Linked DNA regions of Homo sapiens: region 1 is linked to region 2. The links are contacts of gene promoters, found by promoter capture Hi-C in blood cells and fetal thymus (Javierre and others, 2016). All regions are on one chromosome and are shown on one strand. Each heading gives the region's core, a stretch centred on a gene start or on the middle of the fragment in contact. The rest is flanking DNA. Distances are from core to core; before and after follow the strand shown. Region 1 holds the start of EDRF1 (erythroid differentiation regulatory factor 1). Region 2 holds the start of LHPP (phospholysine phosphohistidine inorganic pyrophosphate phosphatase).

Region 1 (4,202 bases), core at 257-2,756, 1.3 Mb after region 2:
AGAATTATTGGCTGCAATATTCAAATGAAATGATAAAAATCAAAATCAATACATGTTGAAGTAAATGTCTACAAAATACACTATTATATCAAATTAACTGTTAAATTTAATTCACTATTATTATTTTTTTAAGACAGAGTCTCACTATCGCCCAGGCTGGAGCGCAGTGTTGCCATCTCTGCTCACTGCAACCTCTGCCTCCCAGGTTCAAGCGATTCTCCTGCCTCAGCCTCCCTAGTAGCTGGGATTACAGGCGCCCACCACCACATCTGGCTAATTTTTGTATTTTTAGTAGAGATGGGGTTTCACCCTGTTCGTCAGGCTGGTCTCGATCTCCTGACCTCAGGCAATCTGCCCACCTCGGCCTCCCAAAGTGCAGGGATTAAAGGCGTGAGCCACCGCGCCCGGCCTGTTAAATTTAATTCATAAAATTGTTTTGTTACATTTGAAAGCAATTTGTGAGTTGAATGCTTACTCATCAGGAGCATTCCTGAAAACGGACAGGACAGTGAGTTGTAAGAGCCAAACGTGAATTACAAATTGAGACAGCCAAATTGCAAGAGCCAAGTTAATTTTTAAAAACACTTTCTGTATCTTACGGCACAACAAAACACTTTTACTACAAAACATGTATTGTATAACGGATGTGGCTGCGTTTGACAGTTTGAGATGACACTGAGGAGTGTGAAAGAGAGCCTGGACCTTCAAAGCTTGCAAACGGCCCGGGCTATTTCTCCACCTCTTCGCTACTCAAAGCGCTGGCATCGTTTCCTGGGAACCTGTGAGAAATGCCGAGTCTCGGACCCATCCAGAGCGCCCGAATGGAAACCTAGGCGTTACGAGGCCCCAGGTTCAGCGTCTCACGGGTCCTGCACCACCTGGGACGCCCCGCAAGCAGCGGGCATGCCGGGCCCCCAGAAGACTCCGAAAGCCACCCATTCCCTAAACGGGGAGGGCCTCGTCCGCGCGTCCCAGCGCCCTCCCCGGAAGCCCCGCCGCTCCCACACCCAGGATGGGGCCACATGGGCACTAAAAGGCGGGCAGGAGCGCCCAGTCTCGAGATGGCTGGCTCGCCTTTCCAGTCCGGGCCCTCGGGGTGCCCGTGTGAAAAGATGTGACACTGAAGCCTGGGGAAGAAGTTTGAACCTCTCACTAATTCACGTAACGGGAGCCGCCGGCAGCGCTGACGGCTGCACCTCCCCTCCCACGCGGACACTACCTGCAGGATCGGACGACCCCCAGAACTGTTTGCCAACAAAGACATGCAGGGGGCGGAGCCTGAGCGTCAGATACCGTGAGCGGCGTGCAGAGGGCGGAGCCTAGGAGTCAGATACCGCGAGAAGTAGTCTCCCGAAGAGGTTCGGACAAGCGCAGGCGCACTACAATTCCCGCCCTGGCCGCGAAGGTGGCACCCGCAGCGGGAGGCGGGGCCGGGCCTTCGGGACAAAGATCGCGAGATTTAATGGCGAGTCACAGCTACTTCTTCCTGGCAGAGACCGGAAGTGCGGTCCGCGGAGCGTCTCTGGCGCTTACCCTGCTTTGGGCCTGCGTTGCTGCTGCTGCTCCTCCGCTCCCCCGTCGTATCGCCTGCCCTGGATCGAAGTGATGGGGGATGCCAAGGAGGCCGGAGCCGAGGGTCCGCCGGCCGGGGCCGCCGCTCGAGGAGGGCTCAGCCTCCTGTCCCAGGGAGAATCCGAGGAATCTTCTGCACAGGTGAGTCCTCCGCGGAGGGGGACCTGCCAGGGATGTGGGAGCGGAGGACCCGCTCCACCGGGGAGGGATGCCACGGTTCCCGGCAGATTCTGGAGGCTTCTCCATGTTTCCCTGACACCCCCAAAACAGGGAGTTGAAGTCCATGCTCCAGTCGGCAGGTATTCGTATTAAAAGCAGTTCTGGTAGCCGACAGGTGAATTAGATACGATCTTTCCTCTCAAGGAGGGTACATGTAAATATGTCGTTCCAAAACGTGGCACAGTCGTGCAAAGCAGGAGGGAAGAAACGGTGCCAGGTAGTGACTCGCCGAGAATGAGACCGAACTAATTCACAAAGGGTGTAAAATGTTTGCCATGCAGAAGAGGTACTGCGTGAAAGGTTAGAATATTGAACCCAGACGCCGAACTTGCTTTGGGAGTGTGCAAGTGCAGGCTGTGAGGAACGAACCCCCAATGCCTTTCTATGAAGTTAGAGACTCAAGAGTATTTGAACCATGCATGCATGCATGAACCGATGCATCGATTACTAAATATTTGCATTAAAACAAAAAGCCCAAATGTTCTACCAGACTATTTTATGAATGATGTGTTATTAAAATTAAAATACATCTTTGGCCGGGCGCGGTGGCTCACGCCTGTAATCCTAGCACTTTGGGAGGCCGAGGTGGGTGGATCACCTGAGGTCGGGGAGTTCGAGACCAGCCTGGCCAACATGGCAAAACCCTGTCTCTACTAAAAATACAAAAATTAGCCGGACGTGGTAGTGCACGCCTGTAATTCCAGCTACTAGGGAGGCTGAGGCAGGAGAATGGCGTAAACCCCAGAAGCCGAGGTTGCAGTGAGCCATGATTGCTCCACTGCACCCTAGCCTGGGCGACAAAGCAAGACTGCGTCTCAAAAAAAAAAAAAAAAAGAATTAAAATACATCTTTAATACTGAAAATAGGCTTTACTAAAGTTTGCATCTAGTTAACATGATACCATTGAGTCTCCTTGGTTTCTGCTTCTCCACTTTACATGAATACATTTTAAAAGAGATGTGGGTGGTCCATTTTCTAGCTGATAACCATAACCATCATACTCCTTGACTCATCTTTTTTCTTTGAAGTTGGTGTAAAAGAACTAAGTAAATGTTACCATTTATGCTCAAATTTATTAAGTGCTGTTAGTAACATGTGGCATACGTTCCTTGTGAAGCCTGGTGTGACAGGTTCTTGTTTTCTTTTTATAAAGGTGAGATTTTTCGTTCTTAGTAATTTTCATTAAAGTTTCACCCAATGTGTTAATTAGGGATCAGCTTTATTTCTTGGAGGCAATGAAGTGAAGAGCCGAGCTGTGGTGAAATACTCTTCTGCCCCTCCTCGAACAGCATTTGCACGCCTTGAAGAGAAAACAGACTTGAAACTCCCACCTGCCAACTGGTTACGAGAGAGTGCCAAACTAGGGCCAGCAGGAACTACCATTCTTGGCAACAGCAAGAAAAGCAAGCCATTTTCAAGGTAAATATTAATCAGTGGCATTTTTACCTGCCCCTCCACCCTCACTTAAAACTCTTATTTGCTTTTAAATTCAGTTTGTAATGCCTATTAACTTGTCGAGATTTCTCTTTAGAGAAAGATCACATTTGATTTTCAAAGGCTTTTTATTCTGATAATAGATGATGTTAAAACATGAAGATATACATACAATATCAATTGCATATGCTTCTTTTAAGTCTACGTCATGTTATCAGCAAAGATGAGTTTTGACTGCCAAAGTTCAATCAGCCCTTTCATTTTAGCCAATTTGCATACCTTTTGGATATGTGAATACAAAGGATCAGCTTGGTGCATGAGGAGGAAAACCTTGAACATTCCTTCATCTTTCCTGTGGAGTTTTTCATTAAATGGTGGCAGGTTGATCTGGAAAAGCCAGATTTAAAAACCCAGCATGTTGGGTGACCTACACCTTGACTTTGACACCAGAACTGATGGTGTTCAAAGTTGAGAGAGTAGCCTGAGGTCTTATAGAGAAAAATGTATTAATGTACATACTGTAGGACATTTAATGTGTAGGGTTCTCTTTTCTTCTTCCCCCTTCTCAGCAACTCAATCTAAAATATTTCCATGTAACTTGTAGCAAGAGGCACAAATACACTAATACTTTATGAGCTGGTATTTTGGAAATTATCCTAAAGCCTCAGAAAATAAAAGTTATATTTGCAAAAATGCTGTTTGTTTGTAGCATCATTTATAGGAGCAAAAAGTTGGGAATAACCCAAATATCATTTTTTAAAAGAATGGCTTAATCAGTTGTGATTTGTCAACATAATTAAATGTTGTGAGGAAATTTGAATAATTATATTGACTCTATACAAATGCTGTGGCAAGTATTTATATGCTTATCTCATTTAATTCTCACAACAACTCTTTGAGATAGGCACTGTTAATTATATTGCACCTGAGAAAACGGAAGCTGAGAAGAGCTAAATAATTTGGCTCAAGCATACAGT
Region 2 (3,715 bases), core at 270-2,769:
CTCCAAACTGACTCACTCAGCCCCTGGAACACTAAAAACTGCATTTCCCAGACTCCTTTGCAGCGTGGGCTAGGTTCCACCAAGCCAGACACAGTGAAAGTGAGTGGGTGGCCACAGGTGGAGGGCACAGTGGTGGATATGTTTTGTTCTTTTGGGGGCAGCTATGCTGGGGGCTGCACTAAGTGATGGGGCAGTGGTCCCAATGGAGTAGTAAAATTAAGTGTTTCTCGTGGCTGCATGGCTCCTGGCTGTGTAGGACTTAGACCCGTCATCTGTAAGCTCCTTCACCTCATGTAAACAAAACCCCTCTAGCTGGAGTGGTGTCTATTGTCTGCGACTAAGAACCCTTATATAAGGTATACTACTCCCCAACCCCATTAGTGGAAATCCCAAAGGGTAGGAACTGTATTTTATTTCACTTGTAAACAGCTCCCCTAGTAAGCATGTCAACAAAATATACACAATTCATTGAACCCCATAACATTTCAACGAATTCCTCATCCTTTCTGTGAATCAAGAGCCTGAAAAGAAATGGTGAAATAATATGATCCTCTCTTCTTTGAAAGCTCAAAGCTATGTTGGACCAGAAGTAAAGTGTTCTCGTTTCTATTTAATAACTTGAAAGGTTCCGAGGGGCCATTGAGGAAACTCCTCCCTTTTAATATCAATGTGTATTTATTGCAAAAATAATGTAGCATCGAGTGGTATTTTATAGCTTATCCAAAAACCTCCTGGGTTTAACGCATTGTGATAGTCCCGTTTTCTTCTCAGCCCAGGTCCTATGCATCCTCATCTATGCAGGGCTGTTATCTGCATATAATTTTTTTTTTTTTTAAGACAAAGTCTTGCTCTGTCGCCCCGGCTGGAGTGCAGTGGTGCAATCTCGGCTCACTGCAACCTCCGCCTCCCAGGTTCAAGCGGTTCTTCCGCCTCAGCCTACCGAGTAGCTGGGACTACAGGCATGCGCCACCACACCTAGGTGATTTTTGTATTTTTAGTAGAGACAGGGGTTTCACCATGTTGACCAGGCTGGTCTCGAACTCCTGATCTCAAGCGATCCACCCGCCTCAGCCTCCCAAAGTGCTGGGATTACAGGCATAAGCCACTACGCCCGGCCTCAATTTTGTATTGTACTTTTTCTTTCTTTCTTTAATAGAGACAGGGTCTCACTATGTTGACTAGGTTGGTCTAGAACTCCTGGGCACAAGCTGTCCGCCCGCTTCTGCCTCCCAAAGTGCTGGGATTGCAGGCGTGAACCACCGCCCCTGGCTACAGGTGCCTTCTTGTCTCAATTTGCCTTTGACCTTTCTTAGGGACTTGTTTTCTGCTTTTCCTGCTCTTTGTCCGCTGATCTCCTGGGAAGAAAGCTTCCGAAAAGGACACCGTTTCAGGGGCGAGTGACGCCGGGGTGCCCAGGCCGCGCCCCAGTTCCGGGTTTGCACCCGGTCTTCTTGCCCTGCCCCGCCCGCGGGACTACAGTTCCCAGGCGCCCCTGCGCGGCCGCGGCGCCGGCGCCGGCGTCGGTTGGGACGCGGAGCTGAGGAGCAGGGCCGGGCGCCATGGCACCGTGGGGCAAGCGGCTGGCTGGCGTGCGCGGGGTGCTGCTTGACATCTCGGGCGTGCTGTACGACAGCGGCGCGGGCGGCGGCACGGCCATCGCCGGCTCGGTGGAGGCGGTGGCCAGGTGAGTGGGCCCCGGGACGCCGCTGGGGCCGCCGAGCTCTAAGCTCAGCCCGCTCCCTGGCTGCCGGCAGGGGGCGGGGCGGCAGGGGGCGGGGCCGCGGCGCAGGCCCCGCCTCGGTCTCCCCCTTCCCACCCCGGTGCGCGCACAGTGCTGACCACGGACGACCCCACTGTTGCCCCCGGCGAGCACCAGGACTCTGCTGGTTAGGGCTGCGCGGTCAGACAGGGCGGCCACCTGGTACGTGCGCTGCTGAGCGCTTGACCTGCGGCCAGTCTGAATTGAGATGTGCTGTAAGCGTAAAATGCATACCGATTAACAAGACTTAGCCGGGCGCGGTGGCTCGCATCTGTGATTCTAGCACTTGCAGAGGCAGAGGAGGGAGGATCGCTTGAGGCTAGGGGGTTGGAGACCACCCTGGGCAACATAGGGAGACCCCGTCTCTGCCAAAAATTTAAAAATTAGCCGGGTGTGGTGGTGCACGCCTGTAGGCCCAGCCACTTGGGAGGCTGAGGCAGGAGGATCGCTTGAGCCCAGGAGGTCAAGGCTACAGTGAGCTGTGATCACCCCACTGTACTCTAGCCTGGACTGCAGAGCGAGACGGTCTCATAAACAAAACCCCCAAAAACACCAGACTTCGTGAGTAAAATGTAAAATAAAAACATGAAAATGGGTTATGTTGTTTGCCTGTTGAAATGATATACTTTTTGTTTGTTTTGTTTTGTTCTTTTCAGATGGAGTCTTGCTCTGTCGCCCAGGCTGGAGTGCAATGGCACGATCTCGGCTCACTGCAACCTCCGCCTCCCGGGTGCAAGTGATTCTCCCCCTTCAGGCTCCCGAGTAGCTGGGATTACAGGCACCCGCCATCATGCCCAGTTACTTTTTTTATTTGTTTTGTTTGAGACGGAGTTTTGCTCTTGTTGCCCAGGCTGGAATGCAGTGGTGCAATCTCTGCTGACTGCAACCGCCGCCTCCCAGGTTCAAGCGATTCTCCTGCCTCAGCCTCCTGAATAGCTGGAATTACAGGCATGTGCCACCACACCCGGCTAATTTTTTGTATTTTTAGTAGAGACGGGGTTTCACCATGTTGGGCAGGCTGGTCTCTAACTCCTGACCTCAGGTGATCCACCTGCCTCGGCCTCCCAAAGTGCTGGGATTATAGGCGTGAGCCACATGCCCAGTTGATAATATTTTTAATATACTGTTTTAGGTTAAAATATTTGAAATTAAGTATACCTTTTTTTTTTAACTTTTGTTAATGTGCTTATTAGAAAACTTTAAATTACCTTTGTGGCTCTCATTATAATTCTGTTGGACTGCATTGGTTTAGGTGAGAGGAGGAGGAAGAGAACATCGTGCCAGCCAAGACTTGACCATGAGGACACTTTTTTTTTTTTGAGACAGTTTTGCTCTTGTTGCCCAGGCCGGAGTGCAGTGGCGCCATCTGGGCTCACTGCAACCTCTGCCTCCCAGGTTCAAGTGATTCTCCTGCCTCAGCCTCCCAAGTATCTGGGATTACAGGCACCCGCCACCACGCCCAGCTAATTTTTGTATTTTTGGTAGACATGGGGTTTCACCATACTGGCTAGGCTGGTCTCGAACTCCTGACCTCAACTGATCCACCTGCCTGGGCCTTCTAAAGTGCTGGGATTACAGGCGTGAGCCACCGCACCTGGCTGACACTTTTCTTTGTATAATTTTTTTTTTTGAGACAAGGTCTCATTATGTTGCCAGGGTGGTCTTGAACTCCTTGGCTCAGGCAGTCCTCCTGCCTTGGTCTCCCAAAGTGCTAGGATTACAGGCATGAGCCACCACACCTGGCCTAATTTTTTTTTCTTTTTTTTTTTTTTTTTTTGAGACAAGGTCTTACTTTGCCACCCAGGCTGGAGTGCAGTGGTTCAATCTCACTGCAACCTCTACCTCAAGGGCTCAAGAGATCCTCCCACCTCAGCCTCCCAAGTAGCTGGAACTACAGGCACGTGCCACCATGCCCAGCTAATTTTTTTGTGTTTTTTGTAGAGATGGGGTTTTGCC

What was found. Contacts are between HindIII fragments. The CHiCAGO score rates a contact against its expected background, and 5 or more counts as called.
Region 1: a contact is called between the fragment with the promoter of EDRF1 here and the fragment with the promoter of LHPP in region 2, in 3 of 17 cell types (neutrophils, naive CD4 T cells and total CD8 T cells). The highest score is 7.9, in neutrophils.

What each region holds. Positions count from the first base shown.
Region 1 is chr10:125,718,203-125,722,404 of GRCh38, forward strand. It overlaps EDRF1 (erythroid differentiation regulatory factor 1), which reads left to right and starts at 1,507. Exons shown (of 25, transcript NM_001202438.2): 1 at 1,507-1,713; 2 at 3,002-3,210. The coding sequence starts at 1,606. EDRF1-DT (EDRF1 divergent transcript) reads right to left here and starts at 1,291. Exons shown (of 5, transcript NR_033847.1): 1 at 1,220-1,291. RefSeq lists enhancers at 623-732, 1,213-1,292, 1,408-2,390. The HindIII fragment of the contact is 5,171 bases long and covers 709-4,202 here.
Region 2 is chr10:124,460,304-124,464,018 of GRCh38, forward strand. LHPP (phospholysine phosphohistidine inorganic pyrophosphate phosphatase) reads left to right here and starts at 1,520. Exons shown (of 7, transcript NM_022126.4): 1 at 1,520-1,684. The coding sequence starts at 1,560. RefSeq lists a silencer at 1,400-1,859 and an enhancer at 3,376-3,715. The HindIII fragment of the contact is 2,939 bases long and covers 1,366-3,715 here.